Regions from separate parts of the Homo sapiens genome. Here all the other regions are linked to region 3. The links are contacts of gene promoters, found by promoter capture Hi-C in blood cells and fetal thymus (Javierre and others, 2016). All regions are on one chromosome and are shown on one strand. Each heading gives the region's core, a stretch centred on a gene start or on the middle of the fragment in contact. The rest is flanking DNA. Distances are from core to core; before and after follow the strand shown.

Region 1 (3,367 bases), core at 580-3,079, 240 kb before region 3:
ACTCCTGCTCAGTTTCCTGCTGTATTCAAGGGGTTTCTCCTTTTAGGTCAGGTCCTCAGTTATTGGAGGCCTGGGTAGAGGCCAAGAAGTGCAGTCATTGGTCATCCCTGCTTTCACAATGAAGATGGATGTCCAATGCATGTGGTCCCCAGTCATCTCTGCTTCTAGAATGTATGGAGCTCTCAGTCCTGCTGGAAAAGCTCCATGAAGTCAGAAGTACCTGAGGGTGTCCAGTGTATTTGTGCACAGCCACCTTTTAGATCCCTGTGTCCTTGACAGAACCAGTCATGGACTGAGTGGGAGGCAGCCTTTACTTTGCCTAGGGAGTTGATGCTGAGACATCCTCTGTTTTCTCTCCTAAGAGTAAGTCAGTTTTTTCCTCTGGTGGAAATACTGCCTTTTCTCATGTTGGAGGAGAACACTGAGTTTTCATGAGAACCGATTTAATGGAGGAAGGTGAGAATCTCTTTGGAGATTCCAAACCCTGGGTTTCTTTAGCAAACATTTTGATAGCATCTGTTGAAAAGGAAAGTTTAGGCCCAGATGGTGGCTCATGCCTATAATCCTTGCACTTTGGGAGGCTGAGACGGGCAGATCAGTTGAGCTCAGAAGTTCAAGAACAACTTGGGCAACATGGTGAAACCTCATCTCCACAAAAAAATATTTAGTAAAAAAATTAGCCATGCGTGGTGGTGCGTGCCTGTGGTCCCAGCTACTCAGGAGGCTGAAGCAGGAGAATCACTTGAGCCCCGGAGGTGGGGGTTACATTGAGCCAAGATCGTGCCAGTCTACTCCAGCCTGGGCAGCAGAGCCAGACCCTGTCTCAAAAAATAAAAAAGAAAGAAAAGGAAAGTTTGCAGCCTTTTTTCATGTTCCTGATTGTTGGGTTACATTTGTATAAGATGCTTCTGTAATAGGTTTTGTGGGAGGTGCCAGAAGAGAACCCCAAATCTGTCTTCTACATCAGACAATACACCAGAAATTAACCAGAAAGGTAAAAACCGTAAAACCTCAAATAGTTTGATTTGTAAAAACATTTTAAAGGCCAGGTGCAGTGGCTTACGCATGTAATCCCAGCACTTTGGGAGGCCAAGGCGGGTGGATCACAAGGTCAGGAGTTCGAGACCAGCCTGGCCAACACAGTGAAACCCTGTCTCTACTAAAAATACAAAAATTAGCTGGGCATGGTGGCAGGCGCCTGTAATCCCAGCTACTCGGGAGGCTGAGGCAGGAGAATCGCTTGAACCCAGGAGGCAGAGGTTGCAATGAGCCGAGATTGCACTACTGCACTCCAGCCTGGGCAACAGAGCTAGACTCTGTCTCAAAAAAAAAAAAAATTTTTAAATATAATTCACATAACATAAATGTAATTATTTGGCCTGGTCCTGGTGACTCACAACTGGATTCCCATCACTTTGGGAGACTGAGGCAGGAGGATTGCTTGAGGCTGGGAGTTTGAGACCAGTTTGGGCAACAGAGCAAGACCCTGTTTCTTTAAAAAAAAAAAAAAAAAAAAAAAGTCATTTTTTAAGTGTACCATTCAGTGGAGTTTTGTTTTTAACAGATGGGTTCTTGCTGTATTGCCCAGGCCAGCCTTGAATTCCTAGGCTTAAGTGATCCTCCTGCCTCTGCTTCCCAAGTGACTGGGACTACAGGCACATGCTACTACACCCAGCTACAGTGGTTTTTAGTATGTTCACAATACTGTGCAGTCACATCTCTGGTGGTTGTTTTCTTTAAGTTATTTTTTCTGAATACCAAAAAATACATGCTTATTATAGAATGTTTTAAATATTCTACAAAAAAGAAAAAGGGAAGGAAAAAAAAAGTATTCCACAAAACTCCCCTCAAAAACAGATTTCACTGAGAGATCAGACTCCCCTGCATGAGGCAGATGGTCCAGGCCTGTGCATTATCATTGTGTCTTTTCTAGTTTGTGTCTAGCAGCAGTATATAGCAGTGCTCTTGGTAGTGGGACCATCTGAGTGACGTACATCTGTGCCCTAGCCAGCATTATAAAAGAACCTGTCTGAAAAAAACAGAAGACCTTAAGGACCAGCATACTGGATTCTGTAGCCATCTCTACCTTCTGGTCTCCAGACTCAGACAGACCCATTTGATATCCAGCCATGTCCCAGACAAGGAGCACATCTGGGTGGCATCTTGTTAGAAGGAGAATGCAAAGATCTCATAAAGTTTTGCCTTGCCTCTCCAAGTTTTTCAAGACAGTCTTATCAGAGTTTATTGATGGAAGAATTTTAGAGGCTGGAAAAGGTATTGCAGAAAAGAAAAACAATGTTTCTATTTTTTTTTTAAACTGATGTTTTGCCAGGCGCGATGGCTTACGCCTGTAATCCCAACACTTTGGGAGGCCAAAGCAAGTGGATCACTTGAGGTCAAGAGTTTGAGACCAGCCTGGCCAACATGATAAAACCCCATCTCTACTAAAAATACAAAAATTATAAGCCTGGTGGCGTGCTCCTGTAATCCCCGCTGCTCAGGAGGCTGAGGCAGGAGAATCACTTGAACCCGGGAGGTGGAGGTTGCAGTGAGCCAAGATCATGCCACCACACTGCCTGGGCAACAGAGCGAGACTTCATCTCAAAAAAATTAAAATAAACTGATGTTTAATTGTGCTTTTCTTTTCTTTTTACAATGAACTTTTGTGAAGTCTTAGTATGTCTGATCTCTTAAATATTTTAAAAACTTGCATCTTTGTATGAGATGAATAAACCATTACAGTTCACAGTATCTGCAAATTGTAAATCAAATAATTCAGACATGGAATAGCCAAAAATAGTAGGAATATAAGTAAATTAGTTTATAGTTTTTCTAAGGAAATTCAAACTGATAACTAACACCTGACTTTGTGAAGTATTAGACTGTGTGCTAATGCCTTTAACTAGGGTAGTCTTTACAGCATACCTATGAAGAATGTATATATTTCTCTCCTCATAGATGAGAAAACAGCACAGAAAGGTAACTCACTAAGAGCCTACCTCTTGAATTTGAATTTTGATCCCTGACACAGAGATCAGATTTGAATTTCCATCTCTGACCCCACACTTTGAGCTCTTAGCTCCTGAGTTTCTCCTGAGGTAGCAATGATATTATTTCTCTGTGGGGTTAGTGCTGCCTCTTACAAAGGATCAGGTTCCACTTTGTTCCCAGGGAAGTGAAAGGACATGAGCAAGGTGACCCTGGGCTCTTCACAGGTTGTGCTGAGCCCTTGGGGCCTTGAGGGAGGTGTTTGATGGGGTGTTTGATCCCACAGAAAAACTGGTAGAGTTTGCAGACCTATAGACAGAAGGTCAAGAGATCACCTCCCAGGTGCTGGGGCCGGGGGGAAGGCTGAGACAGTAAGTGT
Region 2 (3,487 bases), core at 207-2,706, 250 kb after region 3:
CAGTCCCTGCTGGCACACCTGGGTATGCAGGGCTGGTCCCCGACACCTCATGAGCAGACACGCTCATCCTGCCCACTGGGTAGATAGGTCGATGGGTGATGGTGGAGGCTTTTATTTTTACTTTTTATTATGATAATTTTAAACATACAGCAAAGTAAAAATAATAGTTCAATAGGTACTCACAGACCGATGGTCTAGATTAACCTTGTCAACATTTTGTCGGACTCATGTTACTATTGTTTGTGTTGTTGTTGGAATTTAAATCTGAAACATCGTGTTGTTTCAACCCCAACTACTTTCTTTTTTTTTTGAGACAGAGTCTCACTGTCACCCGGTTTGGAGTGCAGTGGTGCAATCTCAGATCACTGCAACCTCTGCCTCCTGGGTTCAAGCAATTCTCCCTGCCTCAGACTCCCGAGTAGCTGGGATTACAGGCTCCCACCACCACACCCGGCTAATTTTTGTATTTTTTAGTACAGACGGGGTTTTGCCATGTTGGCCAGGCTGGTCTTGAACTCCTGACCTCAGGTGGTCCACTCGCCTCAGCCTCCCAAAGTGCTGGGATTACAGGCATGAGCCACCACGCCTGGCCAATCCCCTACTACTTTCATATGAAGTTGGAAATCCCAGGGCTGTTTTCCTACAGATAAAATTATTCTACGCGTAAAGTAACTGCTAGTTCCATGAGCTCAGGTTGGCTGGGTCTTTCCTTCTCAGTGGTGTCCAGCCTCTGCAGTCCTCCTTCAAACTGCCCCTGCACCCCAGCTCCCCCAGCCTCCCTCCTGTTTCTTGTCCCTCTATAGTCCTCACTCCTCAGGGAATGTCTATGGCACTGCCACTATCCCCTTTCTCTGCTCTCCCCTCCCCTCATCCTGTGGGAAGCATCCGCCCACGCTCCCTGAGCCCCTGCCCTAGCCCCCACCCCTGCATCCCTGGCAGCAGCTCCCAGGCACAACCAGGGCCCTGCCTGGTCCGGAGCACGCCCATCTGTTCAGCCTTCAGAGGCCTTGGACCCACATCTGCCCACTGTTGCCAATGCAGAACTTGGCCTCCTCCCACATCTCCTTTCCCTGGGAATGGTTCCTCACAGCCAGAGACTTGGAGGGCCTCCCTTTTGTGTTTCTCCATCTAATCAGTTACCAAGAGGTTGGGCCACTGGTGGATGCCCCTCCAAAACCCTCTTGAGTGTGTTCCTGTCAGCTCTTCTGGGCTGCTGCCCTGGGATGGGCTGTTGTGGCATCGGCCACTGCAACAACCGCCTTAACACACTTGTCTGACTACAGACGATCTGATTTGTTCATGAGATGTCCTGTATACTGTCCTCCAGAGCACAGGACCTCTCTCATCTTGTTGAACAGCACATTTGCAGCATCTGGGGCATTAGCCTTTAATGGGAAGGAAGGGAGGGAAAAAAGGAGGAAGGGAGGGAGGAAGGAGGAGAGGGAGGGAGGGAGGGAAGGAGAGAGGGGAGGAGGGAGGGAGGAGGTGGGAGAGGGAGGGAAGGAGGCAGGGATGGAGGGAGGGAAGACTATATCAGGCCTCCCCACTTTCCAGTTAGTTGTCAATGCTCTGTCCAGCATGGCCTTTCACGCCTGGGCATGATCCTATCACAACCCCATCTGAAACTCTTCGGCGGTTTCCCATTACCTGGGGGGAGAAGTCCAAATGCTGGGGTGTGGCATTCATGCCCTTCATGACCTTGAATGAAGTGGCCTAGAGGAAGCGTTTGAGTGCATGCCTGTGTGAATCTAGTCTTGGCTGTGCTAGTTGTGTGACCTTGAGCAGCTTACTCCTTCCTCATTTGTAAAATGGGGTAATAATGAGACCTATTCCAACTACCAGAGGGAGCTGGGGCCCGGGGGGCCAGGAGGGAACACATGTTCTGTGTGGCTGGTGGGGGGCAGTGGGGAGGAGTGAGAGGTGTTGGCAGGACAAGGAGTTCGGGTTAGGTGCACAGCTGCCCTTAGAGCCCTCAGGGCCAAATGGAGAAGCCAGAGGGTTCCAGGAATGCCATTCCTCCAGGCTCACCAGCCCCAGAGGCAAGGAATGTAGGGTTCTTCTTGCGCCCAGGGGAAGGTTGTTGGCCCCTGGCTTGCCTGGCTCCAGCCTATCATCTTCTAAGATGCACAGGCTCTTTCACTCCCCAGCAGCTCCTGTGTGCCCAGGATTGATGGGGAAATGAGGCCCCGGGTTGTGGTCATCTGGAGCACACTGTCCCCACTCCTGGTCCTATGGGGTCAGCTGGGTCAGGATTTTCTCCAAAACTCTGAGTAAAGACAGGGATGGAGGAGGCCATGCTATTCCACAGGTGTGTCCTGGTCTTGTGGTGACTGCCACAGGCCCTGGGTACATGACCTGCCTTCAGCCCTTGCAATCAGGGTCACGGCCTCTGATCACGTGAAGGTCTCATGCTTGTCATCAGGGTCACAACCCTGGTGCAGGTCCTCAGCCCTTGTCATCAGAGTCAGGACTCCTGGGTGAATGTCCTGTCCTTGTCATTGGGGTCATGACCCTTCGGTGAAGGTCTCACTCTCATTATAGGGGTCCCGACCCTGGGTGCAGGTCCTGCCCTCAGCCCTCTGCCCTCATCATGGTCTGTCTGCTCTGACACCCTTCCTACATCTCCTGTCTCACCAAGTCATGTCCCTGCATACAGTTGCTACACCTCCTGCCTCTAGCTCCTGCTTAGAAAGTTCTCTCCTCCCATCTTTCAAAGCTCTACTGCCACCTCCTACTCCAGGGCTGCAAGGCTGTGAGGCTGCAGTGGGCCCTCTGCCCCTTCTCTTGTACCTAGCAGAACCGTGGGCCTCATGGGCCTGTGGTCATTGGCAGGTGGGTTGGATGTCCCACTGGCTCTGTTTCTGCCCTGGACCACAGCAGGTAGAGCAGGGCTGCAGAGGATGCTGGGCGCAGCCCTGGTGGCTAAGGCCTCATGGTGTCATCTCTGTCCAGCTTGTTCACTTGTGGTCCATTTGCTAACACTTGTGTGTGGCCAGGGGCACAGGCACATGAAATGCAGACCCCAGGTGCATACCCACAGAGGCTCCTCCCCAGCTGCGAGGCTTCTGACAGGGAGTCGCCCCCGAGCTTTCAGAAGAGTCCAGCGCTACACAAGGACGCAAGGAGCATGGATGGTCCTAGGCTGAGATATCATGCAGCCTGGCAGGTGCAGAGAAACAGGGTCTTTTTGGGGAGTCATTTTCTCCAACACTGAGGTGGGAGAGGGCTGGGGAGGCTGGCAGGGCTGGACCATGGAGAGCCATGGGGGCCAGGCCAGGGGTCAGGGTGGCAAGGCAGGATCAGACACGTTTTAGAAAGGCCCTTTGCCAGTTGACAGGGAGGTGGGAGGAGAGGAGAAGGGGAGCCTGGACAAAGGTAGGCACTGGGCCTGGGAGGAAGGTATGTGGGACCGGGGCCTGGGTCTCCTGGGCTGAGAAGGGAAAGTCCAGCAGGGGTGGGGTTGTAGAAGGGAGGGCAGCAGGCCTGG
Region 3 (3,637 bases), core at 321-2,820:
ATAGACACCGCAACAGTGAGGCCTAGAGAGATCTTTTATGCCAGATTACCCAGGTGCAACCTAAATGCAACTGTTATCAATGGTCTGGGTAACTTGGACATGTTTCTTGCCCTGGATGTGCAAGGATCTATTCCCTCCAGGGATTATCCTGATGGGTTTACGAACCTCAGTTGAGAAACAACAGAAGCTGAGACAATTTTACGCAGGTGAGGAGATGCTGTTTTCCTCTTTGCAGGTTGCTGTCAGTTCCTTGGAACTTGACTGCTTTTCTCAAGTTGTCCGTCACTGTTCTCTTACGATTATTTCTCTTAACTGTGTTACGTTTTGTTTTTTCCCTCTGCGGCCTCCCTTGCTCCCTCTCCACTAGCTCACTGGGGATGAGCAGGAAAGGGAATTCTCTAGCCAAGGGGATGGTGGTTGGGTGGAGGCCTGTAGGGGAAGCTGCCCGTTTCAATCCTCATCCACCTCCTCACCCTCTGACTCTTCGCCGCCGCCGCTGCCCCCACCACGTCGCTCATAAAGCTTATCCCTCTGTCGTTCCTGGATTTCTTTCATCTCATCCGCATACCGGCAAAAGGCGCCTCCGAACTTGCCCCAGGCTTTGAAGGGTACGGTGATGGCATTGCGGTAGGACGGCTTCACCTCGCTCACTCGCAGAAACACCCCGTATTTGTTGCAGCCCACATCGAAGAAGAAGCGCTTGGAGTCCACGGTGATGGAGGTGCCCTCCGGGAGCTCTCCATACAGGCCGCCCCCTGGGCCCCCGGCGCCGCCTCCCGGGCCGCCTGCCAGCTCGTCGTCCTCGCCTCCGTAGTCGTCTATGAGCTTCGCCAGCGCGTCGCGGAACTCGATGAGGCCCTGCGCAGGCAGCGCGATGGTCTGGCCGCTCTGCAAGCCGCCCGGCCCGGGGCCCGCGCCGAAGCCGCCACCGCCGCGGTTGACCGTTTGGCGGATGCGCAGGAAGCGGCCGCGCTGGTTCTCCTTGAGGTCCAGGTAGTACTTGCGGTTCTCACGCACCAAGAATTCGCTCTTGAGCGCGCGCCGCGGCCCGCCGCCCTCCTCGGCGCCAGCCGCCAGCTGCTCGGGGCTGCTAGGGCCCAGCTGCGCGTAGTGTTCTATGAAGTCGCCCAGCGAGTCGCGGAACTCGGCGGCCACCGCCATGGACAGCGTGAGGCGGCTCTTGGAACCGCCCGCGCCCACCTCGGCGATCTTGAGGAAGCGGCCCTTGGCGTTCTGCTTCACATCTAAGTAGAAGCGCTTGTTCTGGATGTCCAGCCGCTTCGAGGCCAGCTCCTGCGTCTCTTGCTCGCCGCCGCCGCGGGACGCGGGCTGGAACCCGCACGGCCCACCGCCGCCGCCGCGCTCGCTGCCGCTGTCGCCGTCCGCCATCTTCTAGGCCGCCGCCTCGCCGCCACCGCCCGCCGCGCTCGCGCCCCCGCCCTCCGGCTCGCGCTCCGGGGCCCCCCAGCCTCGCCCGCCCGGCTCGCTCACGCGCTCCCGCCGCTCATCGCCGGCCGCCGCCGCCCCCCCATCGCCTCCGCGCCCCGCCCCCGCGACTTCCGTGCAGCCCTAGCCACTTCCGGCGCGCGATTTCCCGTGAAGTCACTCCGTCCCGCCCTCCGCGGCCTCGCGGCCGGAAGCGCCGCGGCGGCGTGGCGCAGAGGGGTGACGTCAGGGGCCGCGCCGGGCGGGCGGCAAGCTGAGAGTAGGCTAGTGTTACTGCTCGGTTTCTAGCCCTGGGGACTTGCCAGCCTTAGCGTGACTCAGCCGCCCGCTGCGTCTGTCTACGCGCCTCTTCCCGTGACACTTTTACTTTAGACTCCGGTGTCGTCCACTTCCCTCCTTCTCGCTTCCGGGGCGTTAGCTGAGCATACTCAGGCCCCAGCCTGCTCGCGCTGGTTGTGTGCTGGGAACAGAGTTCCAGTCTATACACTGGCGACCGGGGGGAGGGAGATCCTTTGGAGCACTCGGAAGCGGGTTCTGACCAGCCTGTGGGGTTCCCTAGAGGAGGCATGAGCTGACTCTGAAGGGCAAACTGCAGTTGGCCTGGCAACTCTGGAGAAGAGCCACCCAGCATAGGAGACGGCAGTGCAGAGGCACCCAGGGCCTGATGCTGGGAGCTCAGAGCAGCTGGGGGTGTGTATGCCTGAAGAATGGTCGTAGATGACACTGGAGGGTGGATTAGATCAAGGAAAGCCATTTGCAGTGCGGGAGAGTTAGTGCCTACCCCAGAGTCTGGAGCCACCGTATGTGATCAGGTTCACATTTTGGAAAGATCACTGTGGGAACAATATAGAAAGAAGATGATTTAGGATGAGGTTAGATTTGGGATCCAGAGATCAGTTAACTGTCCCCACAGTTAGCCATATTAAAGTGGTTAAGGAAATTGACTGCCAATCTTTAGTTTCTTTATCAATAAAATGAATAATTCCTATGAGGTCTTTTTGTTGTAAGCATTGAGGTGTAACAAGAGGCAGAATTGGAATAGTGTTAAAAAGTGTAGGCTCTGCAACTGCACTGGGTTTGAATCTGTGACCTTGACCAGTTACTTGATTTTCCAAAGCCAAAATGTCCTCATCCTTAAATTTTTTTTTTTTTTTTTTTGAGTCTTGCTCTGTCACCCAGGCTGGAGTGCAGTGGCGTGATTTTAGCTCATTACACCCTCCACCTCCCGGGTTCAAGCAATTCTCCTACCTCAGCCTCCTGAGTAGCTGGGATTACAGGCAACCGCCACCACACCCGGCTAATTTTTGTATTTTTAGTAGAGATGGGGTTCCACAATGTTGGCCAGGCTGGTCTTGAACTCCTGACCTCAGGTGATCTGCCCGCCTCAGCCTCCCAAAGTGCTGGGATTACAGATGTGAGCCACCACACCCAGCCTAAATGTAGTTATTCATAGATAGTGAATCCAACAATGGACTTGTAAAGAACACAAATAATAGATAACCCAATATAAAAGGTGAAAGATTTTAACAGACACTTCGTCAAAAAAGCCAGTAAGCACATGAAACAGTGCTCAACATTATTCATCATTAGGGAAATATAAATTAAAGTCAGAATGAAATACCAACTAGAATGGCTAAAATTAAAAAATGTAACATCAAGTGTTGAGAAGGATGTGAAGAAACTGGAACTCATACATTGCTAGTAAGGATATAAAATGGTATAAATGCTTTGGGAAACAGTTTGGCAGTTTCTTATATACCTTTCATAAAATAAGACCCAACATTTCCACTTTTTTTTTTTTTTTGAGCAGTCTTGCTCTGTTGCCCAGGTTGGGGTGCAGTGGAACAATCTTGGCTCACTGCAACCTCTGCCTCCTGGGTTCAAGCAATTCTCCTGCTTCAGCCTCCTAAGTAGCTGGGACTATAGCCATACCCAGCTCATTTTTTGTATTTTAGTAGAGATAGGGTTTCACCGTGTTGCTCAGGCTGGTCTCGAACACCTGAGCTCAGGCAATCCACCCACCTCGGCCTCCCAAAGTGCTAGGATTACAGGCGTGACCCACCGCAGCCAGCCTCCACTTCTAGGTATTTACCCGAGGGAAGTGAAAGTATGATCACACAGTTTGTATGACCCCATTTATATAAAAGTATATGAAAGAGGAAGGTGTGTGTGTATGTGTCTGTGTGTGTGT

Evidence for each region. Contacts are between HindIII fragments. The CHiCAGO score rates a contact against its expected background, and 5 or more counts as called.
Region 1: a fragment that was not itself captured here is called in contact with the fragment with the promoter of PURB in region 3 in 3 of 17 cell types (monocytes, naive CD8 T cells and total CD8 T cells); the score reaches 9.9 in monocytes.
Region 2: a fragment that was not itself captured here is called in contact with the fragment with the promoter of PURB in region 3 in 12 of 17 cell types (fetal thymus, M0 macrophages, neutrophils and 9 more); the score reaches 9.5 in fetal thymus.

The regions. Positions count from the first base shown.
Region 1 is chr7:44,641,599-44,644,965 of GRCh38, forward strand. All of the region lies in intron 2 of OGDH (oxoglutarate dehydrogenase), which reads left to right. Among named protein-coding and RNA genes, the nearest start is that of OGDH, 37 kb to the left of the region's middle. The HindIII fragment of the contact is 9,176 bases long and covers 1-3,367 here.
Region 2 is chr7:45,131,128-45,134,614 of GRCh38, forward strand. No RefSeq gene overlaps it. Among named protein-coding and RNA genes, the nearest start is that of TBRG4, 21 kb to the left of the region's middle. RefSeq lists an enhancer at 2,694-3,194. The HindIII fragment of the contact is 5,554 bases long and covers 1-3,487 here.
Region 3 is chr7:44,883,960-44,887,596 of GRCh38, forward strand. It overlaps PURB (purine rich element binding protein B), which reads right to left and starts at 1,571. Exons shown (of 1, transcript NM_033224.5): 1 at 1-1,571. The coding sequence starts at 1,389. The coding sequence ends at 451. RefSeq lists enhancers at 643-1,602, 1,751-2,000, 3,598-3,637 and silencers at 1,061-1,110, 1,401-1,760. The HindIII fragment of the contact is 4,558 bases long and covers 521-3,637 here.